Regions from separate parts of the Homo sapiens genome. Here region 1 is linked to region 2. Evidence: promoter capture Hi-C in human tissues and cell types (Jung and others, 2019). All regions are on one chromosome and are shown on one strand. Each heading gives the region's core, a stretch centred on a gene start or on the middle of the fragment in contact. The rest is flanking DNA. Distances are from core to core; before and after follow the strand shown.

The links. Contacts are between HindIII fragments. The study calls those that stand out against the background at their distance.
Region 1: a contact is called between a fragment that was not itself captured here and the fragment with the promoter of KCNB2 in region 2, in 3 of the 25 tissues and cell types used here (H1 embryonic stem cells, dorsolateral prefrontal cortex and hippocampus).

What each region holds. Positions count from the first base shown.
Region 1 is chr8:72,618,070-72,625,785 of GRCh38, reverse strand. All of the region lies in intron 2 of KCNB2 (potassium voltage-gated channel subfamily B member 2), which reads right to left. It also overlaps the pseudogene HAUS1P3. Among named protein-coding and RNA genes, the nearest start is that of KCNB2, 85 kb to the right of the region's middle. The HindIII fragment of the contact is 3,649 bases long and covers 179-3,827 here.
Region 2 is chr8:72,533,079-72,539,899 of GRCh38, reverse strand. It overlaps KCNB2 (potassium voltage-gated channel subfamily B member 2), which reads right to left and starts at 2,675. Exons shown (of 3, transcript NM_004770.3): 1 at 2,015-2,675. LOC105375897 (a long non-coding RNA gene) reads left to right here and starts at 6,524. Exons shown (of 3, transcript XR_929042.3): 1 at 6,524-6,821. RefSeq lists silencers at 2,616-2,665, 2,826-2,885, 2,896-2,945, 2,956-3,085. The HindIII fragment of the contact is 6,044 bases long and covers 1,294-6,821 here.

The DNA of each region.
Region 1 (7,716 bases), core at 754-3,253, 87 kb before region 2:
GAGATATGTCCAGCATTATTTTTCCTCCTTTGGACCAGAAAAGAAATGCTCATTTTTCTGGGTGCAGTGGCTCATGCCCGCAATCCCAGCACTTTGAGAAGCCGAGGCAGAAAGATCACTTGAGCCCAAGCGTTCAAGACCAGCCTGGGCAATAAAGTGAGACCCTGTCTCTAGAAAAAATACAAAAATAACCTGGGCATGGTCACACACGCCTGTAGTCTCAGCTACTTAGGAGGCTGAGGTGGGAGGATCACCCGAGCCCAGGAGGTCAAGGCTGCTGTGAGCTGTGATTGCGCCACTGCACTCCAGCCTGGGTGACAGAATGAGACTCTGTCTCAAAAAATAATAATAAAAGTTAAAAATAAATATTTTAAGTAAATTTTTCTTTCCCATTTTGGGATCACTGAGGTTTTTACTTTGAAATTATAATTGAGATGAATTAAAGCTTCTAAAATGTCTATGTTTTAGATTTATTGAAATACAAGCTCCTCAGAACAGGGACTTCATTTTGTTCACTGCTCCATTTCTAATTCCTCAAAATGTGTCTGGAATACTGAGGGTGTTTGTATTAGTTTCCTGTTTCTATATAACAAATTACCACAAACTCAGTGACTTAAAACAACAGAGGCCTGGCATCTCACAGCTTCTGCGAGTCAGGAGTCTGGACACGGCTTCACTGGGTCTCCCGCTAGTGTCTCACCAGGCTGCTATAAAGGTGTCTGTTGGTTGGTGCTGGGGTCTCCTATGGGGCTTGACTGGGAAAGGATCTGCTTTTGTTGGTGGAATTCAGTTCCTAATGTATGTGATCTTGAGGACTTCTATTTCTCACTAGCTGTTGGCTGGAGGCTTCCCTCAGCTCTAAGAGGCCACCCTCAGCTCCTGGCTAGGTGGGCTCCCAACACGGGCAGCCCACAGCATGGCAGCTGGCATCTTCAAAGCCAGCAAGGAGAGGCTCCAGCAGGAGGGGCACTGCGATGTTATGTGATATAACCAAGTACATCCCACTGCCTTTGCCCTACTCTGTTGTTTTTAAGGAAGTCACAGGCCCCATCCACATTTGAACACCAGGAGGTGGGGGTCATGGGGACCGCCATATCAATCTGCCTACTGCAATGCTCAATATGATGTGTTGACCAAACAAATGAATGCAGACTCACAGTATCTTGTTAGTGTGATCAGGTAGGGTTAATCTAAATTTTGAGTCCATTATTCAATTATAATTAGCATATTTTCCATTCCTTGTTCAATGAAAAAAAAAACCCATATCTCTGAGCAAAAACCATTTGCTAAAAGCCATCTCAGGCTTATGAAGAAGGTTTGAGAGATATCACAATGTACCACAGAACCATAATGTTATCTTTTTTGTTGTTGAAGAAAGTACTTCCCCAAGCACAAAAGGTTGAAATCCTGTGGTAGGCTAAAATCTGTCAGGAAAAAGGCACTTAATGTGTGCTTCTTCTTCGAGGATGTTTTCCCAGTTTTCTGAACATATAGATAATTGGAGAAGTTTTCTACCCGAACTATCCAATTCCATAGCTTTGACTGAGACACTAGCACAGAAAGCCAAGCATGCATGAGGCAGAATGAAGATATTTAAGAACTTAGCATATATTTGTAAAATAGCTTATGTTTAAGTAATTTACTAATATGAACATTATAGAGATTTGATTGATGTAAACAGAAGAGCAGAGTGAGTAGAGAAATGAGGAGGAGGCATGGCTCCTAATTCCGTCTCTAGTAACGATTTGTAGATAAGCTACCTACCAGCATAAGCACTCTTAACTAATGAACACATGCTTATGCACCGATCAGGAAGCACTCAAGCATCTGGGGGGACATGAAAGAAAGGGGTGATCATGAGGGAACTAAGAAAGCTGGAGCCAGAAAGGACATTTGTACCAATGAGAGCCTGTCTTTGGGGCCAGCCTCAGTGGGTCTGATGCTTCACAACTGTGATTTGGGGCACCTAACTTCTTTATAAATCCATCTTCTCATGTATTAAATAAGGAGAGTAAAGACCTACCTGTAGTGGTTGTCATGAGAATTAATTAACCGAATACAGGTGAAGCTTTTTGAATATGACCAGGAAGACAAATGTGACAAATGAGTTATCTTTTTAATCTGGTCAAGGCCTCCTGTGTGCTGGGAGCCTGGTTCCTCTAAACTAGTTCACTAGGTTGTGACTCATATTTTCCCCTGATAACCTATCCACCTTCCTTCTATTTGTAAAACCTTTTTCAATTCTTTATTGTCCCTGAAATGTGTCCAGATGGTTTGGGTTCCAAAGTCTTCTATCAGAACAAACCAGAAACTGCAGATCACAGCCTTTGCTTTTCAATAAGTGACACTTGGTTTTCTTCCCCACTCTGTCCTTGATGCTGCTTCCTTGGGCTCAGAGGTATCTCCCTCTAATCGTCTCCAACCCTCCCCTTCAAAGCTGGAGTTAAGTCTCTGTACTCCTGGAATCAAAACAACTCCAGAAAGGCAAATAGCAAGAAGTGCCCCTAAATTGTGACAGGCATCGCTACAATTTAAGTTGATAGAAGGAATTTATTTGCTTCCTCCAGCTTTGGGGATAACTTTCACCCAATCAATACAGCCAGAGAAAGTTAACCTCAACACTGATTGACTCTGACTGACTGCAACAGAAGTCTTTACAACAGAAATGCTGCAGTGAAATGGCAGTATAATTAACACTCAGTCAATGAAGACACACCAAAAATGATATTTGTAAACCTTCAGTTTCCTTCTTATTGTATTCTGATTTTGGTAAAATCAGAATTTGGGGCCCACTCCCTTGTTTTACAGATAGAGAAATTTGAGCTCAAGTAGATGGTGTCTTGAATAAAACCACATGGCAAGTTCTAGCAGGAGCTGGAACAGATCCCAAACAGAAGTGCTGGTGTCTGGGGGCTCTCAGAGCTTTACTACGGGACTTTCTTACAGGTAACTAAGATGCATGGAGCATTTTAGTAGATAGGGGTCGGAGATAAACCCACTTCAAACCAAATTCTACTGAATACAGGTTATGTTTTAGTTAACACTGTTATATAGACCAGAACAATTAAACAATAAGCTCTCTTAACAGATTCTTACATAATCCTATGGCATAAACCCTAGACTAACTTTCAAAGAAGGTGCACAGTAGAGTTTAATTATCTAGATTATTCACATCCTTCTTCATTCCATTCTTTTTTTTAATTTACCTAAAGTATTCAGATTAATTAACCATTTTTGGAAGCTTGACACAGAAAAAGGGCTTTCATCCCCATCTCACTGTGCAGCTGTACGAAGATGTTTATTCCATCAAGGTTGATCATGATATTCATATCACATTAATTCAGCTGTTCTCTATGATGGCAGATTATGTTAATACCATGTTTGAATGTCTCCTATTATTGGAGGGTCAAGAAATGCTCCAATTAGTCTCAATACTCTTGGATTACAGTGAAAGACTGTGTAGATGTTATTGAGAAGACTAGTTACAGAGGTAGGCTTTTCTTCTTCTGAAATCACTTATACGCCACTTAAAATGTCTATAACCTATTGAAACTATGCAAACATTTTGATTCCTATTTTTCAGAACAAAAAAAGCCTCAGAAAAGTCAAACACTGTCTATTTTCTGTGTACATTCCATAAGGATTAGACTGTTATCTTATTTATCAATTTATCCCCAACATTTCCCAGAGGGCTTGGTAACATCATAGATACTCATGAAATATACACTAATTGACAAAACGATTTTTTAAAAATTGATTATAGATAATACAAACATATTTTAAAGGGCAAACTGTTAACCATATATAATTTGTCTGAGGGTCTAATAGAGCAGGTGAAATAACATGAAATAGGAAAATGTTGCCTATGCTTGAGGTTACATGAATACTACAAACACTTATGAGATGTATGAAGACCAGCTTTCAACATTAAACTGGGAGACAACTTTTCAAAATCAGCTTCAAAGGATAGTGAAATCATGCCACAGATTTCATTAGATCCTTATTTTACTTGTGTAATTCATTGAGAATTTTAGTCTAAATTTTATTAAAACTGTGGTGTTAACGCCAGATTATTTCTGTAAAAAGAAAATGACTGCTAATTAAAATGAGTGCAGGCTCAAGGGGATGGATAGCCCATTCTCCATGATGTGATTATCACACACTGCATGCCTGTATCCAAACATATCATGTACCCTATAACTATATACACCTACTATGTACCCACGAACATTAAAAATAAAAAATTATAAATAAATAATTAAAAATGAGTGCAGGGAAATGTTCAAGTCAAGTGATGTCATTACTATGGTATAAAAAGACAAAACAAACCAACTTTCTGGGAAGCAAGAGAAACAACCATTAGCTGAACTGATGATGGTGTCAAGTTGTTATACTCCATCCCATCTTTCAAGCTTTTTGAGAAAACAGATCTGGAAGCTGGGATCTGGACTGGGGGATTTGATCCTTCTGCGGATCTTGACTACCACGTCCTCCACATATACCACCAGATGGCAGAAGCTTCTTGGTATGTATGGGAGGTCGTTACTGACACGTTGGGATTGAGTCACTTGGAACAAATAAAAATATACAGGTCAGAAAGGGTTAAGAGATGAAATGTACATATGTTAGCAGGATTCTTTTAAAAACACATTCCCATAAACTTGTGATCTTATTTCTTGTATCAAAAGTGAAGACTCATATAAACAGAATCACTTTTATATTAATATTTCCTATTCTGGAATATTCACGAACCAGATGGTTAGGTTTCACAGAAAAACAAAAAATTCTCAGAAAGACAAAAGTCCAGAGACCACATTCCCTTGTGTCTAAGGGCCTAAAACGTAATCCAATGAATTAATGTATCTAAAACGTAGTACTGGCCAGACACAGTGGCTCATGCCTGTAATCCCCACACTTTGGGAGGCCGAGGCGGGTGGATCAACTGAGGTCAGGAGTTTGAGACCAGCCTGGCCAACGTGGTGAAACCCCGTCTCTACTAAAAACACGAAATTAGCCAGGTGTGGTAGCAGGCACCTGTAATCTCAGCTACTCGGGAGGCTGAGGCAGGAGAATCACTTGAACCTGGGAGGCAGAGGTTGCAGTGAGCCAAGGTCGCACCACTGCACTCCAGCCTGGGCAACAAGAGCGAAACTCCATCTCAAAAAAATAAAATAAAATAAAATAAAATACAGTACTGGAAGGCCTTCCAACTTTGGACAACAATGTTGCTAAAGGGAAAGGCTTCAGTTAGAAAGGGACAGTGGGCTTTATCACAGACAAGATTCAGAGGGCACTGAAATGTCTCCCTCTCCTGCACATGTTAGTTCATTTGTATCCTTTAGTTCCAGTAATTTAAGATCTATTAACTACTTCTAGATAGCACTAACTGATATGGTTGATCTTGCAGAAGAGGGACCCAGGTTTGAATCAGCATGTGCTATAAAACGGCCTCTTCTTTTCAGGAGGTGTCTTTGCAGTAGATTCTGGAGAAACAATGATCAGGCTCTCTGGCAGAACATCTAAACTGCCTGTTGGATTTCTGTCTTCCTTGGCAACATTATATTTTAACTGTTTCCCTGTAGAGTAACCAGAAACTTTTGTTTCTCTAAAGTAGTGCTATGTGATGGAAATAGACTAACTTTTTTGGAAGAGGTATTTTTAAAAGTAGATGTAAACAGGTGAAATTAATTTTAATAATATATTTCATTCACCACAGTATATTCAAAATATTATTGCAGCATGCAATCAGTATAAGAATTTATAAATGAACTATTTCCTTTTTTGTTGTAAGTCTTTAAAACAAATTTGCTGTGTATTTCACACTTATAGCACATATTAATTCAGACTAGCTACATTTGAAGAGTTCAGTAGTTACCATATTGGATAGTTACCACAGCTCTAAGGTATCAACATCTCCAATGAATAATTAAATCCTTTAATAAATCATATCAACCAAATGGTTCTGAAACTTTTTACTGTTACAGTTTTGAAGATTATTTTGTTACCTGAAGCTAACTGACCATGTCTGTACACTGTGAAATATTGAGAAACTCTTTTTTTGTGGATGATAAGATTTAGATAAAATAAAATTTGAAGATAATAAAATAAAATTCTTGAAATGAAAATTAGTAAATAAGGGGCTTGCAGGGCACTTCTTCCTTGAGGAGTTCCGTGTGAAGTGGCAGGAGTGGCAGCTATGGAGCCCCAGGAGGAGAAAGAGGTGCAGGTTGCTGTGTGATTAAAAAAAAAAAAAATGGAGGTAATCCCATTTACCTCATACCCATACTCAAAATCTCATACCCATAGTATGAGGTGAACCTACGAATTAGAGATTTTACACCACCTTTTAGAATGCAACAAGCTCCAGGACAGGGATGTCTACCTGGTAATACATGACTTGAAACAGGCAGAAAGCAAGTGAATATAAATCAGAAGCCAAGCCTCTTCAAGACCTTCTCATGGAGAGTGTGAACTTTTCCCCTGCCAATCTCTCCAGCACTGGTTCCAGGTATCTGAATGCTTTGGTTGACAGCACATCGCCCTTGAAACTAAAGATACCTCACTAGCTAGGTTTATCCCTGCAGTGAATAATTCGACATCTGATCTTTCAAACAAAATCCCAAACTGAAGAAATCAAGATTGAATGGGAAAATCTTGAAAAAAAACTAACTGCAACATTAATATTGGAAAAATGTCAAAAAGAGGATCTCAAGAAAGTAGAGTTTCATTTGTCTTTGGAAAGGGTCAAAGTCGACGGTCATCTTCAGAACAGGGATGTTCTAAAAACAAAGTCAGTGGAGTTCAGATTTGAAATCAAAGCTGCAGAGGAGTCACTTTCAGCCAGAGGCATGGATGCTTCTCCATTTCATCAGTCCCTAGTAGCGGTATCAGAGAAACTGGCAGAGTTAAAACGATAGACCATACCTTTGAAGAAAAAAATGGAGTTCTATTTAGATTTAATGCTGAATCCATCTCTTGCTCAAGTGAAAATTGAAGAAGCAAAGAGAGAATTAGGTAGCACTGAAGCTGAACTTACAAAGAAAGTAGACAAAATGGAACCGTGACCAGAGTCAAATAAACATCATTTTCCTTAAAAAAGTAAATTGAATAGGACTTTACAGACTTCCTTTTTCCTCTTGTAATTGCTTAATAATGTAATTTCTGTGTTTTTAGAAGAGATAATAATGTCATAATTGATCAAATCATGGTTTCTTGTTGTGTATAGCAGTTTCTGTGTCCAAATATACAATGTTCGTATTAAAATACCTTTTCTCTGAAAAAAATGAGTAACTAAAATTCTTTCACTAGTGTTCTATTTCAATATAACTGCAAAATAATAAAAATTTATGTTTATTAAAATCTTGTAGTTTTATCAACTAGTTGGATACATGACAACACAGCAAACATATTTTTAAACTAATACTTAGGGTGAATTAATAGGCAAGAAAAAGAAGGAGAGTTTCTCTGATTCTAAGGGTACAAGACCTCAAAAATAATTTGGGGGCACTATTTGGTTTTGATCTTGAGCTTACTTCTCTGCTTCTAGTTCCTACAGAAACCTGAATCATTTGGGATGCTAGTTCTTTGGGATTTTTTTTTTTAACACACATGTGCATCTTGCAAGGATTATGAGCTAATGTCAGTCTACATTGCCATCTCGGTAGGCATTTTTAGCTTTCCCACCATACAGATGCAGCCACACAAGGGGCTGCAGGA
Region 2 (6,821 bases), core at 1,426-3,925:
AAGTTGCCCTATTGCCTAAACTATGAAGTTTTAAAAGCCAAACAGAAGGGAATGGATAAAGTAATAATTTCTACTAACTCCTCTGAATATTCAGTAAATATGTATGCTTGGAAAGTTGAATTGTTGGACTTGGAGAACAGTGAAATGCAAAATAGTTTCAACGGATGCATGGATTGATTCTATTTGGAAAAACAGAAGAAAAGAAAAGAGAGGCAATAGAAAAGATGTGAGATGAGAACTCTCAAAGTGGCAGGCAGGAGAGTGATTTTTCTGGAGTCGATACGTGTGGGTTTGTGTATGAGGGAGATTTGAGAACACTAACATGGAGAGGGAAAGGTGAAGGTTAAAGGAGCAAGAAAACAAACAGAACTGCCAAGTTCTTTCTCCAAAAGTCTGAGTAGTGCCAGAAAAGGAAGAAGGGTACATTATACAGAATTCTATTTGTGATAAACAATTGTTCTAAACCTTAAGGCAAGAGGGAGGGGATTATGGTATTTACTTTGTGGAAGCATATTAACTCTTCTAGGTGATAAGGATACTTTTCCTTCAGTGGGGAAGAAAGTTATTTCTACGTTGGACCTTCAGTATTTTCAGAGTCCATGCAATCACACAAGTAAGCACTTTATCCATGCCCTTAAATTAAAAACACCACCTCAAACGGCAATTAAATGCGCATACACATGTGTAATGTGCCAAATTACTAAACTGTTTGAGTTAATTTAAGAACAAAGAACTCTCTAGCCTAGATGTCTAGTCTAGATGGGTTTTATTCATGTATTACGTTAAGCTTTGGACAACTTTATATTTATTGACACACACACACACATGCCCCTAAAGAGTGAAATAGATAAAACAAAACTTTATTTTCTTGATATGTAACTTTAGAATGTTACCCTCTTTTACAAAATCTTTCCTGTAAGTTATTCAGCACTGACAGGTAAGACAAGATTTTTGACCGAAATCTATCTCTCGCTTGTCCTATGAAATGTAATATATTGATTGCTGTTTATTGGTAAATAAACCAAGAGACTTCCGACCCACACTATACTACACATTTAACAATAACAATAAAATGCTTACTCTTCCTTTCCCTCAGTTTCAAAAAATCAGATTCCCAACAAAATAAAAAAATTAATCAATGCAAAAATGAAAATGTGATACGATACTTAAAATCTTGACATTACTACACAACTTGATTAGAAGGAATGTTGAACCTGCGCGGAATTAACCCAGTGTATGTGCATACTAAATTTTTTTCAATGTAATCTTGTATGCATTATTACTTATTGTTGAAACACATGTGCAGTCATAAATGTTGCATAAATGGCATGTTTGTGCATATTGCACACTGACAGTTTTTATGAATGAATACGCATAAATGCTCACAACTCGAGAAAATGGATGGCGGCATACTATTTTGAAGAGGATCATTAAGCATCGGGAGCAAATGATGAGGCAAATGGTCGATGTCTTTTGGTGCTATTCAGGGCAAACGTATTCCCAAGTCCCCTAGCAGAGTGTGTTGGAAACAGCCATGAAGCTCTTTCCTTAGAGACCCGTTCTCCCTCTCAGGAATCGTGCTACAGAACGGAGACCGCGCACCGCTTGAAGAATAAAATGCACGCATGTCTCTGTGTTCTGAGGATCGTTCATACATCAGAGACATCACACTCCCTAAATCCAGTCCCACAAGTGTGTGCATGTGAGTGTGGCATTTACCAACAAATGGACGGAAGGCAACAAGAGCTCGGCTCCTAGAAATAACATCCCCATCCCTTCCCAGTCAGGCTGCTGGGAAGCTTTTCAGGGGCTAATACTTGAGCGCCTTCCCCACCGGGAAGGAGCCTGACATTAAAAACCCTCTCAGGGCTAAGTCAGCTTTGTGTGTAAGTCCACTGGGCGCCATATGGCAGTTTCCAATTCCTTTAGCAACTCAAGTCTGGCTAGGCTGCCGCGATGATTCATTCTTAAAGGAAGACCCCCTTCGGGGAGCAGCAATGCCCCCGCCACTTACCTAGCTCCCACAGACCCCGCTCAGCAGGCGGCACGGGCTCGGGCACCACAAAGGGCTGTGGGATTCCCCGCTCCCTCCGGGGAGCCTCTCCCCGCGACGATCCCCTTCGCCAATGACCTGTCGCTGGAAATCCCCCTCCCCTCCACAGAGAGGAGGGTCTCCCCGGCTGGCTGGAGCTCCCGGCGTGCTTTCCCCCTGTCTTTACATCCCTGACTCTGGTTCACGGTCTCTAGTAGGAAGGCTCAGAGGAAAGGCGGCGGGAGGAAGCTAAGGCATCCTTTAAAAGAACAATAATCTTCATCGATCTTCAACCCCTTCCCCACACGGGGTCCCCATCCCCCTGCCGCCGCCACAGCCACCCAGACAAGAGAGGGCTGGAACAGAAGAGGAAAAATCGAGCGGGGCTGAGCTCGCCGCGCGGAAGGAGCCAGAAAGCGAGCCGCGCCAGCCCGGGAGTTGCCGCTCGCTGGGGCTGCCCGAGGCGCAGCGGCGGCGGCGGCCGCGGGGGCGGAGGGCGGAGGGCGGAGGGCGGTGGGTGCTTGGTGGGTGTGTGTCTGTGGCGGAGCAGGGTAGAGGCTGCGCGCGGGAGGCTAGGCGGGGCGCTCTGGGGCGCCGCTCCCCCGCCCCGCAGCTAGCCGGCCCGGCGCGCACACAGGGCTGCGGCCACCCCAGCCTCCCGCTCCGCCTCCTCCCGCGCTCCGCGCACCCGCGGGCTGGAGCGGCCGCCGCCTTCTCTTCCTCCTCCCCCTCCCCCTCTTCCTCCTCAGCGCTCCCGGCTGTCAAGGTGGGCGGCGGGGCGGGATGGCTGGGCTGCGCGAGCCGGCAGCGCACCGCCGGGGACGCCGGGGCTCTGCCTCGCGGCGCCGGAGCTGTGCGCTCGGCCGGGGACAGCGCTCTGGTGCCCAGGGCGCGGCTGGGGCGCGGGCAGGCACCGCCCACACCTCGGCGGGGTGCCTCCCTCAGCTTCCGCGCGCCAGCCACTCCTGCTGCCCCGGGCCTGGCTCCACACCCACCTGCTTCGCTCTGCAGCTCCCACCCGGCTGCACTGGACTAGAGGGACGCAGCCCCCGCGGCTGCCGCGCACCCGGGGCCGGGAAAGCCCCGGGAGGCCCCGCCGCGACGCGCTCCGGCGGCTTCGCGGGATTCCCTCGGCCCTTCTGCTTCCAACTGCAGGGCTGTCCTCCCGCCCGCCCACAGCAGGACCCTGACCCTGGGCTGACTGCTCGACCCCGGGGAACTGGGGCGAAGACAGATGGCTCCTGAGTGGTGGTGCCAGGATTATTTTCCTGGAGAAAGAGCTGCGGAGATAACTAGGAGCGCAGATAAGATCTGACTTTCCTCGCGGCACCTGCAGCCCCGCTCGCTCGGGGGCCGTCCCTAGCCCCAAGTGACCCGGCTTTCCTGGGTTTGAGGGTAAAGCCGGGTCCGTGGCAACCTTAACCCTTGCTTCTCACGGGGGCGCTCTTCATACCCTTCTTTCTTTCCTTTGCCTATCAACTTACCAGCTGGAAAACTATGCCAAGTTACCCCTTGGCGAGGCCGCAGGGTGAACACTTAGACCTGTACCCACTTCCAGGGCTCGGTAAAGACAATGAACTTGAATAATAACACTGAGCCTTACATATTTCTGACCCCAGTGCTCCTTCACAGGCACGAAATAGAGACAGCTGGCACGGTTACAGGGGCTTTCAGGAAAACAAAGTAGCTTAAAACACCTTTTAGAAACGAACGCAGGCCGTGACAAGTCTATTTAAAGCTGGGACTCCTGAGTTTCTATAGACCAAGAAGGATGGCTGTTGAGGAAGTTCCAAGTACACTGTTTTATTTATATTTATTTATTTATTTATTTATTTATTTTTTCCTTGTATCTTCTGTTTATTGAGTGTTTTTTTAAATTTTATTATTATTATACTTTTAAGTTTTAGGGTACATGTGGGTTTGTTACATATGTATACATGTGCCATGTTGGTGTGCTGCACCCATTAACTCGTCATTTAGCATTAGGTATATCTCCTAATGCTATCCCTCCCCCCTCCCCCCACCCCACAACAGTCCCCGGTGTGTGATATTCCCCTTCCTGTGTCCATGTGTTCTCATTGTTCAATTCCCACCTAGGAGTGAGAACATGCGGTGTTTGGTTTTCTGTCCTTGCGATAGTTTGCTGAGAATGATGATTTCCAGTTTCATCCATATCCCTACAAAGGACATGAACTCATCATTTTTTATGGCTGCATAGTATTCCATGGTGTATATGTGCCACATTTTCTTAATCCAGTCTATCATTGTTGGAACCAAGTACACTGTTTTAAATATACTCCATGTCATCCTTGCCTTAGTTTTAGCCCTGATATGCCCTGGAATGCGCTATCCTCTCTAATTCTCTGCACCTTGACTTCCCACCTCGCTATGGGGAGGTGGCCTTACTTTGTACTGAGGGTTTTTGGTTTTGTGGTGGGTTTTTGTTTTGTTTTGGTTGTTGTTGTTGTTTTGAGGTGTCAGATGTTGGGCGGGATATTTAGCATGGAGGTTGGCCCTTCTGATGTTGTCACCCTCCAGCAAGAAACTGCCCTGCCCTTTGCTCTTCTTGGGGTTTCTCAATTATGAACACTAGGAAGAGGACACCCAGATTCCCAAACTCTTATCCCCAACTCTGGCCTGGTCCCAAGCTCCAGCTCTGCATTTCCAGGGACCTGCAGGCAGTCCATTCCCTCCCGCCCATCCTTTCCACCCTCCCACACAGTTTAAATACTTTCTGCCAATTGCTTTTCCTCACGCAAAACCCTGACCATATCATTTCCCTACTCACAAATATTCCCTGGTGTCCCATTTCCTACCAGACAGCATCTGCCTACCTCTGTGCCATTGCATGCGAGTATCTGGGATACCCTTCTCCAGGTCTTACGTCCAAAGCATTACAGTCCTGGAAGAGTCACTTCAAACTCTGCCTCTTCCATGACTTCTCCCTTTTGGTGTCCGTCGCACAATGTCCCAGCAATCTTTTTAAGACATATATCACCTTCCACTTCCTATACCATGTATTTACTGTGTACATTTCTTAACATTTTAAATTCTGGGTTCCTCCAGAAACAATTCCATGTCCCTTTATGGTTTGCATTCTTTACGTCTAACCCAAAGCCACACATGTGAGAGATACCTATTCATCTAACAAAGATTTATTTTGTAGTTTTTATCAGTCCCTCAATATTTGTTAATTGAATGAAATTTACAAAATAGTTTTAGGCTAGAATTCCTCAAATTAATTTTGAGTGTGCCTAAACTTAACATGACTTTTTATAAATTTAGGGGTGCCAAAAATCTTTCTTTAGTAGCTCTGTATCAACATTAGTGATCGCCTCGCTAAGAATTTAATAATTTGACAAATATTTGTTTAAGTTTTTACCTTAAATTTCCATTAGATTTTAGAAATCTGAATCCTTTTGCCTACTATCTAAGTGGTCATTAGTCAAGAGAGTAAATTATCCATTGGGTAAAACACAATGCTGCTATCTCCATTTCTGGGAAGCAGGGTACTAGGAGTAAGTTATCCATCAGCTCTGAGCCCTGTATATGAGCATGCAATGACAAGTAAAAACAATCTTTGGGGGGAAAATAAGTCTAATTTTGCTTCCTAAATGACTCATAGCTCAAATGGATTATAGAGAATCACCCCTGGTATACAAGTTGTTTGGAATAGCAGAGTTCTCCGTATGCACAGCTTGAATTCCGGATGGCTGCAGAGACTCTTGTGTTGATTATCATCATGTGGCTCCACTTCCTTAGTAAATTTGGGTAATTTGGGGTTTTGTTCAGTTGTTTGCCAAAGAAAAAATTTAAATGATCTAGCTGAAAAGTCAGACATGTTTTCACATTGCTCCCTTTAAGTCTTTTGTTTATTGATATTTACGGAACTGTTCCTTTTGCTTGTATTTCAATTTCTCAGAATTACCTTGAGTTATGACTAAATTATATTACAGTAAAGGAGAGAAATATCTGTTTGGGATGTCAAAATGCTTTCTTCATAATGCTTGGTAAAATAAATAACTGTAGTATAAATTTAACCTGAAATAGCCTTATGCGTATCATTAGATACAATGTAGAGGAAGAATGTGTTTCCTCATGTATCATATGCTGGTGTATAAAAATATATATGTATTTGTACACAATACCAAACATAATAGATTCTTGGTATTTTTTGGCTGAATGAAGTATCTGAGCAAAACCAATAAAAAAAAAGATACACCTGCAACAACATGTTTATCACAGCACAATTCACAATTGCAAAGATATGGAGCCAACCTAAGTGCCCATAAACCAATCAGTGGATAAAGCAAATGTGCTATAAATATAACATGGAATACTACTCAGCCATAAAAAAGAATGAAATATTGTCTTTTGCAGTAATTTGGGTGGAGCTGGAGGCCATTTTTCTAAGTGAAGTAACTCAGTAATGGAAAGCAAAATACTGTATGTTCTCACTTATAAGTGGGAGCTAAGCTATGGGTACACAAAGGCATACAGAATGGAATAATGGACATTGGAGACTCAGAAGGGGGAAGGGTAAGAAGGAAGTAAGGAATAGAAAACTACTCATTGGGTACAAAGTGCAGTACTCCGGTGATGGGTGTACTAAAATCTTAGACTTCACCACTATACAATTCATCCGTGTAACCAAAAACCACTTATACTTCTAAAGCTATTAAAGTAAAAAAAAAAATTAAAAAATAACGTGAATCCCATTAAAGGGAGAAACATAAACATATATGTAAATGTGTTGTGAGTGGGTATGTGTGTATATTCTAGAAGGATG